Linked DNA regions of Homo sapiens: region 1 is linked to region 2. Evidence: promoter capture Hi-C in 16 types of primary human blood cells and fetal thymus (Javierre and others, 2016). All regions are on one chromosome and are shown on one strand. Each heading gives the region's core, a stretch centred on a gene start or on the middle of the fragment in contact. The rest is flanking DNA. Distances are from core to core; before and after follow the strand shown.

The links. Contacts are between HindIII fragments. The CHiCAGO score rates a contact against its expected background, and 5 or more counts as called.
Region 1: a fragment that was not itself captured here is called in contact with the fragment with the promoter of DENND1C in region 2 in 1 of 17 cell types (total CD4 T cells); the score reaches 5.4 in total CD4 T cells.

The regions. Positions count from the first base shown.
Region 1 is chr19:6,874,854-6,881,473 of GRCh38, reverse strand. No RefSeq gene overlaps it. Among named protein-coding and RNA genes, the nearest start is that of ADGRE1, 9.4 kb to the left of the region's middle. The HindIII fragment of the contact is 5,363 bases long and covers 1-4,528 here.
Region 2 is chr19:6,479,395-6,485,825 of GRCh38, reverse strand. DENND1C (DENN domain containing 1C) reads left to right here and starts at 4,039. Exons shown (of 23, transcript NM_024898.4): 1 at 4,039-4,147; 2 at 5,775-5,839; 3 at 5,924-5,967; 4 at 6,108-6,157. The coding sequence starts at 4,131. RefSeq lists enhancers at 3,554-3,848, 5,445-5,944. The HindIII fragment of the contact is 23,241 bases long and covers 1-6,431 here.

The DNA of each region.
Region 1 (6,620 bases), core at 598-3,097, 400 kb before region 2:
GATTATAGGAAAAAGTGCAAGCCTCTGGCAGTCCATTCCAGTAGATAACATTACCCGAAAGGGAATTCTGGGGGTAGAAGGAGAGCGAGGACTAATGTTACCAGAGGATGGGAGGTGAGCAGGGAGAGCTACATCTGTGGTCTCTGCAGAGCAGACACTTGTCCAGGGAAATCCTTTTCTTTACAATCTTTGTTAGCCAGGCATGGTGGTGCACACCTGTAGTCTCAGCTACTTGGGAGGCTGAAGCAGGAGAATCGCTTAAACCCGGGAGGAGGAGAAGGTTGCAGTGAGCTGAGATTGTACCACTGCACTCCAGCCTGGGTGACAGAGTGAGACCCTGTCTCAAAAAAAAAGAAAAAAAAAAGCCTGCAGGTGGATATTTGGGTGTCTGAGACCTATGAGAAACACCAGCTCTAATTCGTTGGCTTCTGAGCCTTGGTTTATTTTGACTTCTTATTTCCCCTAGTTAATATGTGAGGTCTATGTGCTCTCTTTTTTTCTTTTCCGTTTTTGGGCCAGGCACAGTGGCTCACACCTGTAATCCCAGCACTTTCAGAGGCCGAGGCGGGTGGATCACGAAGTCAGGGGTTTGAGATCAGCTTGGTCAACATGGTGAAACCCCGTCTCTACTAAAAATACAAAAATTAGCTGGGTGTGCTGGTGGGTGCCTGTAATCTCAGGTACATGGAGGCTGAGGCAGGAGAATTGCTTGAACCTGGGAGGCAGAGGTTGCAGTGAGCCTAGACTGCACCATTGCACTCCAGCCTGGGCGACAGAGCAAGACTCTGTCAAAAAAAAAAAAAAAATTCTTTTTTGAATTGACAAATTAAATTGTATATATTTATGGTGTACAACATGGTGTTCTGAGATACGTATATGTGGTGGAATGGCTAAATCGAGGCAATAAACCTATCTGTTCCTTTGCATGCACGTCATTTTTTTGTGGTAAGAATAGTTACATCTACCCTCTTAGCAATTTTCAAGGATATGCTACATTGTTCATTGTTATTAACTACAGTCACCATGTTGTACAATAGATCTCTCGAACATATTCCTCTTGTTCAACTGAAACTTTGTATTCTTTGAGCAATGTCTCTGCACCCACATCTTCTCCATATGCTCCTGATCATAGAATGCTGAATGTGGGGTCTCAGCGTCCTATGAGGTCTCATAGGACGAGTATCTCATAGGTCTCAGATACACAAATATCCACTGGGGGACTCACAAAGATTAGAAAGAAAAGGGTTTCCCTGGAAAAGTGTCTGCTCTGCAGAGACCACAGATGTAGCTCTCCCCTCCCACCTCCCATCCCCTGGTGATATTGGTCCTCGCTCTCCTCCTCCCCCCATAATTCCCTTTCAGGTAATGTTATCTACTAGAAGTGACTGCCAGAGGCTTGCACTTTCTCCTATAATCCTTGTTCAGTGTATCCAGGAGTGTGGACTCTAGAGGCAGGAAGACCAATGTGGTGGTTTTAACATATCCATCAGTTCTTTCATACTCTTCAGGTGGTAGAGACTAATCCCTCTCTCCTTGAACATAGACTTAGTGACTTGTTTCTCTCTCTCTCTCTCTCTCTCTTTTTTTTTTAAGACAGAATTTTGCTCTGTTGCCCAGGCTGGAGTACAGTGGCATGATCATAGCTCATTGCAGCCTCCAAGTCCTGGGCTCAAGTGATCCTCCTACATGAGCCTCCCAAGTAGCTGGGATGACAAGCATGTGCCACCACACCCAGCTGACTTTTTGTTTGTTTGCAGAGATAGGATCTTGCTATGTTGCCCAGGCTGGTCTTGAACTCTGGGCCCAAGTGGTCTTCCTGCCTCAGCCTCCCAAAGTGCTGGGATTACACGTATGAGACACTATGCCCAGTGTGACTTGTTTCTATTGATCAGAAAAAGGAGCACATGACAGTTTGTGACTAGGTCATACGTGCCATTGTGGCATCCTCGTTGCTCTCTCTTTCCAGGGTCATGCACTGGGGAGTAGCCAGTCGCCATGTTGTAAGGAGATTCAAGCAGTGCTGTGGAGGAACTGAGCCTCCCACCAACAGTCATGTGAGTGAGCTGCCTTGGAAGCAAATCTTCCCACCCCAGTCGAACTTTCAGATGAGCCAGCCCTGGTCAATGGCTTGACTATAACCTCAAGCAAGAGCTTGAGCCAGAATTATTCAGCTCAGCCACCCCCAGACTCCTGATCCTCAGAAACTGTAAGAGACTAAAAGTTCCCTATTTTAAGCTGCTAAGTTTTGGAGTAATTTGATACACAGCAAGAGATAACCAATACACCTAAGAAGCAGTTTTCACCATTAATAAAATGAGGGTAATAATGTGTCTAACTAGGGCCAGGTGTGGTGGCTCATGCCTGTAATCCCAGTACTTTGGGAGGCCAAGGCGGGTGGATCATGAGGTCAGGAGATTGAGACCAGCCCGGCTAACATGGTAAAACCCCGTCTCTACTAAAAATACAAAAAACTATGCAGGCATGGGGGCACACGCCTGTAGTTCCAGTTACCCGGGAGGCTGAGGCAGGAGACTCACTTGAATCTGGGAGGCGGAGGTTGCAGTGAGCCAAGATGACACCACTGCACTCCAGCCTGGGTGACAGAGCGAGACTCTGTCTCAAAAATAAATAAATAAATAAATAAATAAAGGGTCTAACTTCATGGAGTTTGAGGGTTAAGGTGATACAATAATAAAACTGTGCCTGGCACAGATTAAATGCTTAAATACTATTAGTTATTATTGGTATTATTATTATTCCACCATGCTAAATAGTTGCAGCTACTCATAGAAAAAATCCTGATACCAGCAAAATTTGAATTGGAGAAGCCAGCAAATTTCATATCAGACAGAACCTTATAAGGTGGGTGAAAGAGTTTAGGCTTTACCCTCGGGGCAATAAAAGGAGGTTCAGCAAAGGAGCCACAGGCTCAGGTTGGAATTTTATGTTTGTGTTTTGTAGGTGGGTATTGGACAGGATGGGTTCACAGGTGGGCAGATAGGGAGGAGGCTGGGGATACAGCCAGGAGAGAGAAGAGAACAGTGGCCTGGTCTGGGGCAGGGGCTATAGTGACGGAGAATTTAGGAGGCAGGAACAACCGAATTTGGGGACTGTCTAGATGTAGCAGGGGAGTTTGAGACAGAAGAAGGATTCGACATTTGGAGGCTGGGCTAAAGAGTTGGAAGGTTTTGCAATCAAACCCAGATCCCTTCTGGGGATGGGGATGGGATGAGGCTTGCCACGGACCTGGCAGCTTGGGGAAAACACAGATTTAGTATATGATGGGTCCAGAGGTCAGAGTCCTCTCGAGTCTCATGGGACTAAAACCAAGATGCCAGCAGGGCTGCAATCCTTCCCGAGGCTCCAGGGCAGAATCCATTCCTTGTCCTTTCTGGCTTCTGGAGGCAACCCACATGCCCTGGCTCATGGTCCCTTCCTTCCTATGCAAAGCCAGCAGCTAGCAGTTTCAAATGTCTCTTGCGTACTCTAAATCTCTCGTTCTTGCTCTCTCTCTCTCTCTCATTTTCCCTCTCTCTTGCTCTCTCATTCTCTCTCTTTTTCTCTGTCTGTCTCTCTCTCAAGTTCTCTCTCTTGCTTATTCTCTCATTTTTCCCTCCCTCTTGCTCTTTCATTCTCTCTTTTTTTTTTCTCCTTTTTTTTTGAGACAGAGTCTCAGTCTGTCACCCAGGCTGGAGTGCAGTGGTACGATCTCGGCTCACTGCAACCTCCGTCTCTCGGGTTCAAGCGATTCTCCTGCTTCAGCCTCCCGAGTAGCTGGGATTACAGGCATCTGCCACCATACCTGGCTAACTTTTGTATTTTTAGTAGAGATGGGGTTTCACCATATTGACTAGACTGGCCTTAATCTCCTGACCTCAAGTGATCCGCCCGCCTCGGCCTCCCAAAGTGCTGGAATTACAGGCGCGAGCCACTGCGCCTGGCCCATTCTGTCTGTCTTGTTCACTCTCCTTATTGCTCTTGTTCTCTCTCTCTCTCTCTCGTTCTCTCTCATTCTTTCTCTCTCTCTCACTCTCTGTGTATCTCTATCTCTCCATCTCTCTCTCTCTCCCTGATCCTCCTGTCTCCTTCTCGTAAGAATTCTTGTAATGACATTAGGCAGAGGTTGCAGTGAGCTGAGATCGTGCCATTGCACTCCAGCCTGGGCAGCAGAGTAAGACTCTGTCCCCACTCCCCCCACCTCCCCCCCAAAAAAATAGCCCTTAACTGAATCCCATCTGCAAAAGTCCCTTTTGTCATAGAAGGGAACACATCCTTGGGCTTTAGGGATTAGGCTGTAGGTGCCTCGTGGAGGGAGAGGAGGCCCTTTATCCCACCTACCACAGGCAGGGTATCGGGTCCTAGTGAGACACTGAAAACCCAAGACTCCAGACACCCTTCAAACCCACAGAGGTGACCGAAGCTATATAAAGACTGTCCTGCAGCGGCCCTGCAGAGTTGCGGGTGGGGGTGTAAGAACAGGAAGGGGAAAGATGTGGAAGAGGAAATCAACAATTCTGGCCAAGAAGCTTACAAAATCTAACCCCTAATGACTTCCCTAGCAAAGGGGAATACAAGGGACTCTCAAGATTGAAGAAATCAGCCTGGGGAGCTGCAGGAACATCACTTACCGTCACACAGAGTGCCGGGAAGGGGCAGGGAAGTTGGGGAATCCCTGCCTAACCTGTCCACGCCCTGCTTAGACTCTAAACCCTTCCATGGCTCCCTATTGCCCTCAGGATGAAGTTCAGGCTTATTAATATGGCACTCAAGGCTCTACGTAGTCTGACTCTGGTCTCCCCATCTTGTTTTATTGATCTCCACTCCCCCTAAAGCCCTAGTGATCAGCTAGACACAGTGGCTCATGCCTGTAATCCCACCACTTTGGGAAATCAAGGCAGGAGGATCGCTTGAGCCCAGGAGTTCAAGGCAACATACTGAGATCCTGAATCTACAGAAAAAAATTTTTTTTTAATTAGTTGGGCATAGTGGCTGGTGCACACCTGTGGTCCCAGCTACTCAGGAGGCCAAGGTGGGAGGACTGTTTGAGCCCAGGAGTTCAAGGCCAGCTTGAGCAACATGGAGAAACCCCATCTCTATAAAAGAAAATTTTTAATAAGCCAGGCCTAGTGGTGTATGCCTGTAGTCCCAGCTACTCGGGAGGATTGCTTGAGCCCAGGAGGTCAAGGTCACAGTGAGCCGTGATGGCACCAGTACACTCCAGCCTGGGCAACAGAGTGAGACCCTGTCTCAAAAAAACAACAACAAAAAGCCCCCCAGTGATTATAAAATACTTGAAGTCCCTGTTGTGGGTGCAGTCAACGCTCTGCTCACTGACCTTTCCCAGGCTGGTGCACCCATCCTGGGGCTGCTGTGAGTGAGTGCTGCCTACAATAGCTCATAGCTCACAGCTTCCCCCTTCTCCTCAGCTGAGCAACTGTGCAAACCCTCAGACCCAGCCCACAGCCATAACGGATGGTCACAGAGGTGCAGAAGGCCAGCCCCATGCCCCCAGGGTGAGACCAACCTGGTGGCACCAGTCACACTCCAGGGCTCCCCATGGGATCCGGCTAAGGCTGGACTCCAGCTAAGACCACTTCCTTGCTTAGCTCATTCCCTTGCTCTGTCCTGATCTTCTCCCTCAAAAACACCTGTGCACAAGAAACCTCACAGCAAGTTCTACTTCAAACTCTCTCTCTTTTTCTTTTCTTTTTTTTGAGACAGGGACTTGCTCTGTTGCCCAGGCTGGAGTGCAACGGCTCAGTCACAGCTCACTGCAGCCTCAACTGCCTGAATTCAAGCAATCCTCCCACCTCAGCCTCCTAAATAGCTGAGACCACAAGCATACCCTACCATACCCTGCTAATTTTTTTTTTTCTCTTTTAGAGATGAGATCTTGCTTTATTGCCCAGGCTGGTCTCAAACTCCTGGGCTCAAACGATCCTCCTGCCTCAGCCTCCCAAAGTGCTGGGATTACAGGCATGTGCCACCAAACCCAGTTCTCTCTTGACACCAAGTCTGAAATGCACATTCACCCCAATCCTATACAACCTTTCTGTGTAAATATCACCTCCTCCAGGAAGCCTTCCTTGACTTCCACTTGAGAGTGAGGCGCCTCCTCCATCCTCCCCCCCCATCACCATAGTCAGTATTATCTATGCTTGCTTGAATGTCTGTTTCCCTCAAAAAACTGAGCATTTTCTCAGGGCAGGGAAAGAATTTCATTGGCTGTTGTATCCTAGAAAATAAAGAAACAAATGAGGAAAAAGAAGGGAAGAGAAATAGATGAATCTACTGAACTTTGCATCCCTACCCCGCTTCCCCAGAAGGAAGACCACAATTCTTGAGGGGGTGAGAAATGAACAGCAGCTGCCCTTTTGCAGGAGAAAAGAATCAGGGTTTCTAAGAGGGAGGTGGATGCAAAGACTTCATTGTCCTCCAAAGACTTCATGGTTTATCTATGGCTCCTAAGGCTCTTTCTTTAAAGGTAGGGGTGGTTTATCAGGCGTCCCGGAGACCCCCCTCCCCAAGCTCAATGATTCTCTAAGAAGACTCAGCATATAGTCTTGCTAATGGTTATGATTTGTTACAGTGAAAGGATACAGAGCAAAAAGTCAGAAGAG
Region 2 (6,431 bases), core at 2,790-5,289:
CACAAAAAAAAAAAAAAAAAAAAAAAAAGGGCCGGGCGTGGTGGCTCATGGCTGTAATCCCAGTACTTTTGGAGGCCGAGGCGGGTGGATCAGTGGATCACGAGGTCAGGAGTCCAAGACCAGCTTGGCCAAGATGGTGAAACCCCACCTCTACTAAAAATACAAAAATTAGCTGGGTGCGGTGGCAGACGCCTATAATCCCAGCTACTTGGGAGGCTGAGGCAGGAGAATCGCTTGAACCCAGGAGGCAGAGGTTGCAATGAGTGAAGATCGTGCCACTGCACTCCAGCCTGGGTGACAGAGTGAGACCCTGTCTCAAAAATAAAATTAAATTAAATTTAAAAAAAAAAACAGTTGTGTGTACAGTAGCACACAACTGTAGTCCCAGCTACTCAGGGGGCTGAGGTGGGAGGATCACTTGAGCCCAGGAGGTCAAGGCTACAGTGAGCTATGATGGCGCCACTGCACGTCGGCCTGGGTGACAGAGTGTGACCCCATCTCTCTTTTTTTTTGGGTAGGGGGATGGAGTTTCGCTCTTATCACCCAGGCTGGAGTACAATAGCACGATCTTGGCTCACTACAACTCCCAGGTTCAAGCGATTCTCCTGCCTCAGCCTCCCAAGTAGCTAGCTACATAGCCACGCATGGTGGTACAGATCTGTAGTCCCAGCTACTTGGGAAGCTGAGTCAGGAGAATCACTTGAACCTGGGAGGCAGAGGTTGCAGATATTTTGTCATAGCAGCCTTAATTTTTTTTTTTTTTAACATAGAGTCTTGCTCTGTCACTCGCTGGAATGCAGTGGTGCAATCAAAGTTCACTGTAGGCTTGAACTCCTGGGCTCAAGTGATCCTCCCGCCTTAGCCTCCCAAGTAGCCGGGACTACAGGCGCTATCACCACACCTAGCTCAAACCTCTTTTTATTTATTTATTTATTTATTTTTATTTTTTTATTTTTTACTTTCCCGAGACAGAGTCTCTCTCTGCTGCCCATGCTGCAGTGCAGTGGTGCAATCTTCACTCACTGCAACCTCTGCCTCCTGGGTTCAAACAATCCTCCCACTCAGCCTCCCAAGTAGCTGGGACTACAGGTGCACACCACCATGCCCAGCTAATTTCTGTATTTTTTGTAGAGACGGGGTTTCACCATGCTGCCCAGGCTGGTCTCAAACTTCTGCCTCAAGCAATCCACCCCCCTCAGCCTCCCAGAGTGCTAGGATTACAGGTGTGAACCACTGCACCCTGCCAGAGCCACCGCACTGGGCCTCAAGCCTCTTTTATAAAGGCATTAATCCCACTGTTGAGGGTGGATACCTCTTGACCTCATCACCTCCCAGAGGCCTCACCTATTTTTTTTTTTTTTTTTTGAGACGGAGTTTCACTCTTGTTGCCCAGGCTGGAGTGCAATGGCGCAATCTCGGCTCCTCTTACTACTGCCTTGGGGCTTTAGGTTTCAACATACGAATTTTGGAGGGACACATATTCGGACAATAGCACATGTCCATCAGACTGTGTGAGGATGTGGCTGACGGGATTCTGACTCTGTATGTGTCCAGTGACTGTGGGTACGAGGTGTCTTCTTCTTCTTCTTCTTTTTTTTTTTTTTGATGGAGTTTTGCTCTTGATGCCCAGGCTGGAGTGCAATGGCACGATCTTGGCTCACCACAGCCTCCGCCTCCCATGTTCAAGCAATTCTCCTGCCTCAGCCCCCTGAGTAGCTAGGATTACAAGTATGTGTCACCACCACACCCGGCTAATTTTGTATCTTTAGTAGAGACGGGGTTTCTCCAAGTTGCCCATGCTGGTCTCAAACTCCCGACCTCAGGTGACCCGCCCACCTCGGCCTCCCAAAGTGCTGGGATTACAGGTGTGAGCCACCGCACCCGGCCACGAGGTGTTTTCACACCACACAGTGGTCTGAGTCTGTTGGCAGGATTTCATGTGTAGGTGTGACCCTGACTATATCATGTTCTGTTTTTGTGCCTGCAGATATGTTCACATATCCTGTCTCAACATGACTACGTCTGTCCACCTGTGTGCCTGTGTCTTTTTTGTTGTTTTTGTTTGTTCCTGTGTTTGTTTGGAGATAGGGTCTTACACCGTTGCCCAGGCTGGAGTGCAATGGCACGATCACAGCTCACTACAACCCCCACCACCTGGGCTCAAGGGATCCTCCCGCCTCAGCCTACAGAATAGCTGGGACTACTGCACCTGGCTAAAGTTTTAATTTTTGTAAAGATGGGGTCTTGTTATATTGCTCAGGCTGATCTTTAACTCCTGGCCTCAAACAATCCTACCTCAGCCTCCCAAGGTGCTGGGATTACTGAGCCACTGCCTCCAGCCCCTGTGTCTTTCATAGTCTGCAGCACGGCTTGAGTGTGTCGGGCTGTCATGAGTATCTGGCTGTCATGTGAGTCCAGCTGTGTCTCTCTCTGCATGTGGCCGGGTCTTGGCTATAACTATATCTGGTTATTACTTGAGCTATGTCTGTGCTGTGTTTCCATCTATCTGGGTCTATTTCTCTGTTATTCTGTTTGTATCAATGGCTGTGGTCTCTGTGTAACTGTTTATTGTGTCTCTGTCTGTCTCTGCATTTGTTTGTTTGTTTGTTTGCTTTGTTTTTGTTTTTGTTTTTGAGATGGAGTCTCACTCTTTCACCCAGGCTGGAGTGCAGTGGCACGATCTCGGCTCACTGCAACCTCTGCCTCCCGGATTCAAGTGATTCTCCTGCTTCAGCCTCCCAAGCAGCTGGGATTACAGGCACATGCCACCATGCCCAGCTAATTTTTTGTTTGTTTGTTTGTTTTTGATTTTTTGAGACAGAGTCCTGCTCTGTCGCCCAGGCTAGAGTACAGCGGCGCGATATCGGCTCACTGCAAACTCCGCCTCCCAGGTTCAAATAATTCTGCCTCAGCCTCCTGAGTAACTGGGATTACAGATGCCCACCACCGTGCCTGGCTAATCTTTGTATTTTTAGTAGAGACTGGGTTTCACCATCTTGGCCAGGCTGGTCTCGAACTCCTGACCTCGTGATCCACCTGCCTCAGCCTCCCAAAGTGCTGGGATTACAGATGTGAGCCACCGCACCTGGCCTGTATTTTTTTTTAATTAGAGACAGGGTTTCACCATGTTGGCCAGGCTGGTTGCAAACTCCTGACCTCAAGTGATCCGCTTACCTTGTCTTTCTGCGCACAATGGGTGTGTAACTGTGACTAAGTTGTTTTTTTTTTTTTTTGAGACAGGATCTCACTTTGTTGCTCAGGCTGGAGTACAGTAGTGCAATCTTGGTTCACTATGGCCTCAAACTCCCCAGGCTCAGGCGATCCTCCTGACTCAGCCTCCTGGGTAAGCTGGGACTATAGGTGCGTGCCACCACCGCCAGCTATAATTTTTGTAGCTTTTATAGACACAGGGTTTCGCCATGTTTCCCAGGCTGGTCTCGAACTCCTGGGCTCAAGCGGTCCTCCCACCTTGGCCTCTCAAAGTGCTGGGATTATAGGCGTGAGCCACTGTGCCCGGCCTGGGACTATGATCCAGCTGTAGGACTCCCTATCTCTCCATGTCTGTCGTCTCTGGCTCTTCTGCACTCGGTTTGTCTGTGCTGATGACTTCCTGAGCGTGTAACTGTCTGTGTCTGTGTCTGTCTGTCCGTCCCTGTGCCTGTACTTCGTGCTCTTTGTCCCCATCCCTGGCCCCCCCACCGTCCACTTTACAGGTGGCTCCCTCTGGTGGTCCACCAGTGACCGTCCAGGCCAAATGGACCAAGGGAAAGAGACGGGGAGGCATTTCATTAATAGACAGACTGTGAATCTTGGCTGCTGCGGAGCGGGGAAGGAGAGATGAGGGCCCAGGCACGATGGGGGGAACCAGACACAGTCCAGCCTGGCGGGGACGGAGCTGGGGGTCTGCCTTCCCAGGCTGACCACTTATTGCCCACCCATCCCCAACATAATTAGCAGGCAGGATGCCTGGGTTTCTCACGGGGGTGGGGGCAGGGCCTCTGTCCGGGGACGTCACCCGTTAAACTTCCTCTCTCAGCCACACAGGAAGCTGAGCCGGCTTGGGGCCCAGCATACACAGGCCCCCAGGACCCCTGGGGAGAGGGCCCCGCTGGGCTGGCCCTGCAGGGACCATGGAATCCAGAGCTGAGTAAGAGCCACCCCATCCCTCATTCTCTGGTACAAGATTCCCGGGCCAGGCCTGAGCCGGGGCAGAGGGGAGCTGGGGCTGGAGCAGGCCCGGGAGGTGCAGTGACCTGCCAGGGCAGGTGGCTGGAATCAGATACTCCATGGGCCTCCGCTATGACCTTCACTCTGGGACAGGCCACTCTCGGTCCCCTCCTCTCTCTCTCTCTCTCTCTCTCTATCCAGCTCCTGTGATTATGTCTATAGCTCTGTGAATGCATGTACCCCTCTGAGCTTTGTCCTTGGTATGTCTGAGTGATGGCTTCAGGGGGTCCACAGGGCGGATGATCAGGGCAGAGGGGAGGCTGGGTGTTGGTATGAGTGGGTGATCGTGTGTGACTTGTGTCGGCGTGAGGGTGAAGTGCTGGGGTACCCATGGTGGGGACTGTGTGTGCAACTGGGCGGGACAGTGTGTGTGCAGCTGATCTCCCTCTAGATCTCCCTGTCTCTCTCCTTGAGCCCAAGGCTGCCTCTTCTGCTTGATATGGGGGCAGAGGAGGAAAGCAGAGATTGCAGGGCTTACAGTAAGTACCTAGGTATCCTGCCCTCCTTTCTCTGATGAGACATGTGGGACCAGCCACGAGGGTTCTATGGGGTCTCACACACAGAGACACACAGCCAGCCCACAAGGATCCCACGCGGTTACCCAGTGACACTCACAGCTGTACAGGAAAATATAGATGTCATTCACTTGCTCGGGCACACACACTCACATCTATACAAGAAAATATAGATGGCATGGCTAGATGCAGTGACTCAAGCCTGTAATCCCAGCAATTTGGGAGGCTGAGGCGGGCAGATCACCTGAGGTCAGGAGTTTGAGAACAGCCTGGCCAGTATGTGAAACCCTGTCTCTACTAAAAATATGAAAATTAGCTGGGCGTGGTGGCGGGCACCTGTAATCCCAGCTACAGGGAGGCTGAGGCAGGAGAATCGCTTGAACCTGTGGGGTGGAGGTTGCAGTGAGCCAAGATCGTGCCACTGTACTCCAGCCTGGGTGACAAAGCAAAACTCCATCTCAAAAAAATAGATAGATAGATAGATAGATAGATAGATAGATAGATAGATAGATAGATAGATAGGTGGGTGGGTGGATGGATAGGTGGGTGGGTGGGTGGATGGATGGATGGATGGATAGACAGAGACAGACAGACAGACAGATAGATGGATATATATATAGAGAGAGAGAGATGTAATTCACTTAGCTTGGGACTGCACGGGCTGTCCTTCATATCTGTGCAGTCTCATGCCACAGATATAGGAGACAGTCTCATCTTTTCAGGCAGACAGCAGACAGGATCACACACACACTGCCTGCTCACAAAAGCCATGCACTCAGCCACACACAATCATACACAGCCACACACACACAGTCACACTTTCTCACTCCATCCTGTACTTGTGTGTTCAATTAACACTGCTGCACACACAGCCTCACACAACCACACACTCACAGCCACAAACCCCCAGAGTCATGCACATGCCGACGCACCTTGTGGCACATGCACACACAACCACACTTGTGTGCAAAGTGGCAGACACAACCACACATGCATAGAAGCAAGTCTCTGGACCCCTTCTGCATCCCACAGAGGGGGCTCCCCTGCTGTGTTTGATTGGTTCTTCGAAGCGGCCTGCCCTGCCTCCCTGCAGGAGGGTGAGTTGGGAGCCTGGGAGTGAGGGAGTGGGAGGGGAGGGTGGGCCTGGGTCGCTGAACTTAGAGGCGTGCTCTCTTCTACAGATCCCCCCATCCTGCGGCAGTTCCCTCCAGACTTCAGGGACCAGGTATTCAGGCTGGCTCCTTGCTCCCCCAGGGCGAGGGCCAGTCTCCCAGGGGGAGGGGACTTGGTTTCTTGGACCTGGAGCCCAGGGAGGTGGTGCCCGACCTCAGTGGCCAAGCAGTCTGCGCTTTTCTTCACCTCCAGGAAGCTATGCAGATGGTGCCTAAATTCTGCTTCCCTTTTGATGTGGAAAGGTACGGAAGGGCGGGGAGATCCAAGGACTCAGGGACTCAGATCTCTCAGGGGCCCCAAGGACTCAACACCTAGAGACTCAGACATCTGGAAACCCATACACTCGAGGACCCTGAGACTCAGAGACTCAGACACTCAGGGGCCCTGAGAACTAGGGACCTATATACATTAGCATCCAGGGACTCAGACACTCAGGGACCCAGAGATCTAGGGACTCAGGAACCCAGGGACCCAGGGACCCAGGGACTCAGAGACTCAAGGACTCAGGGACACAAG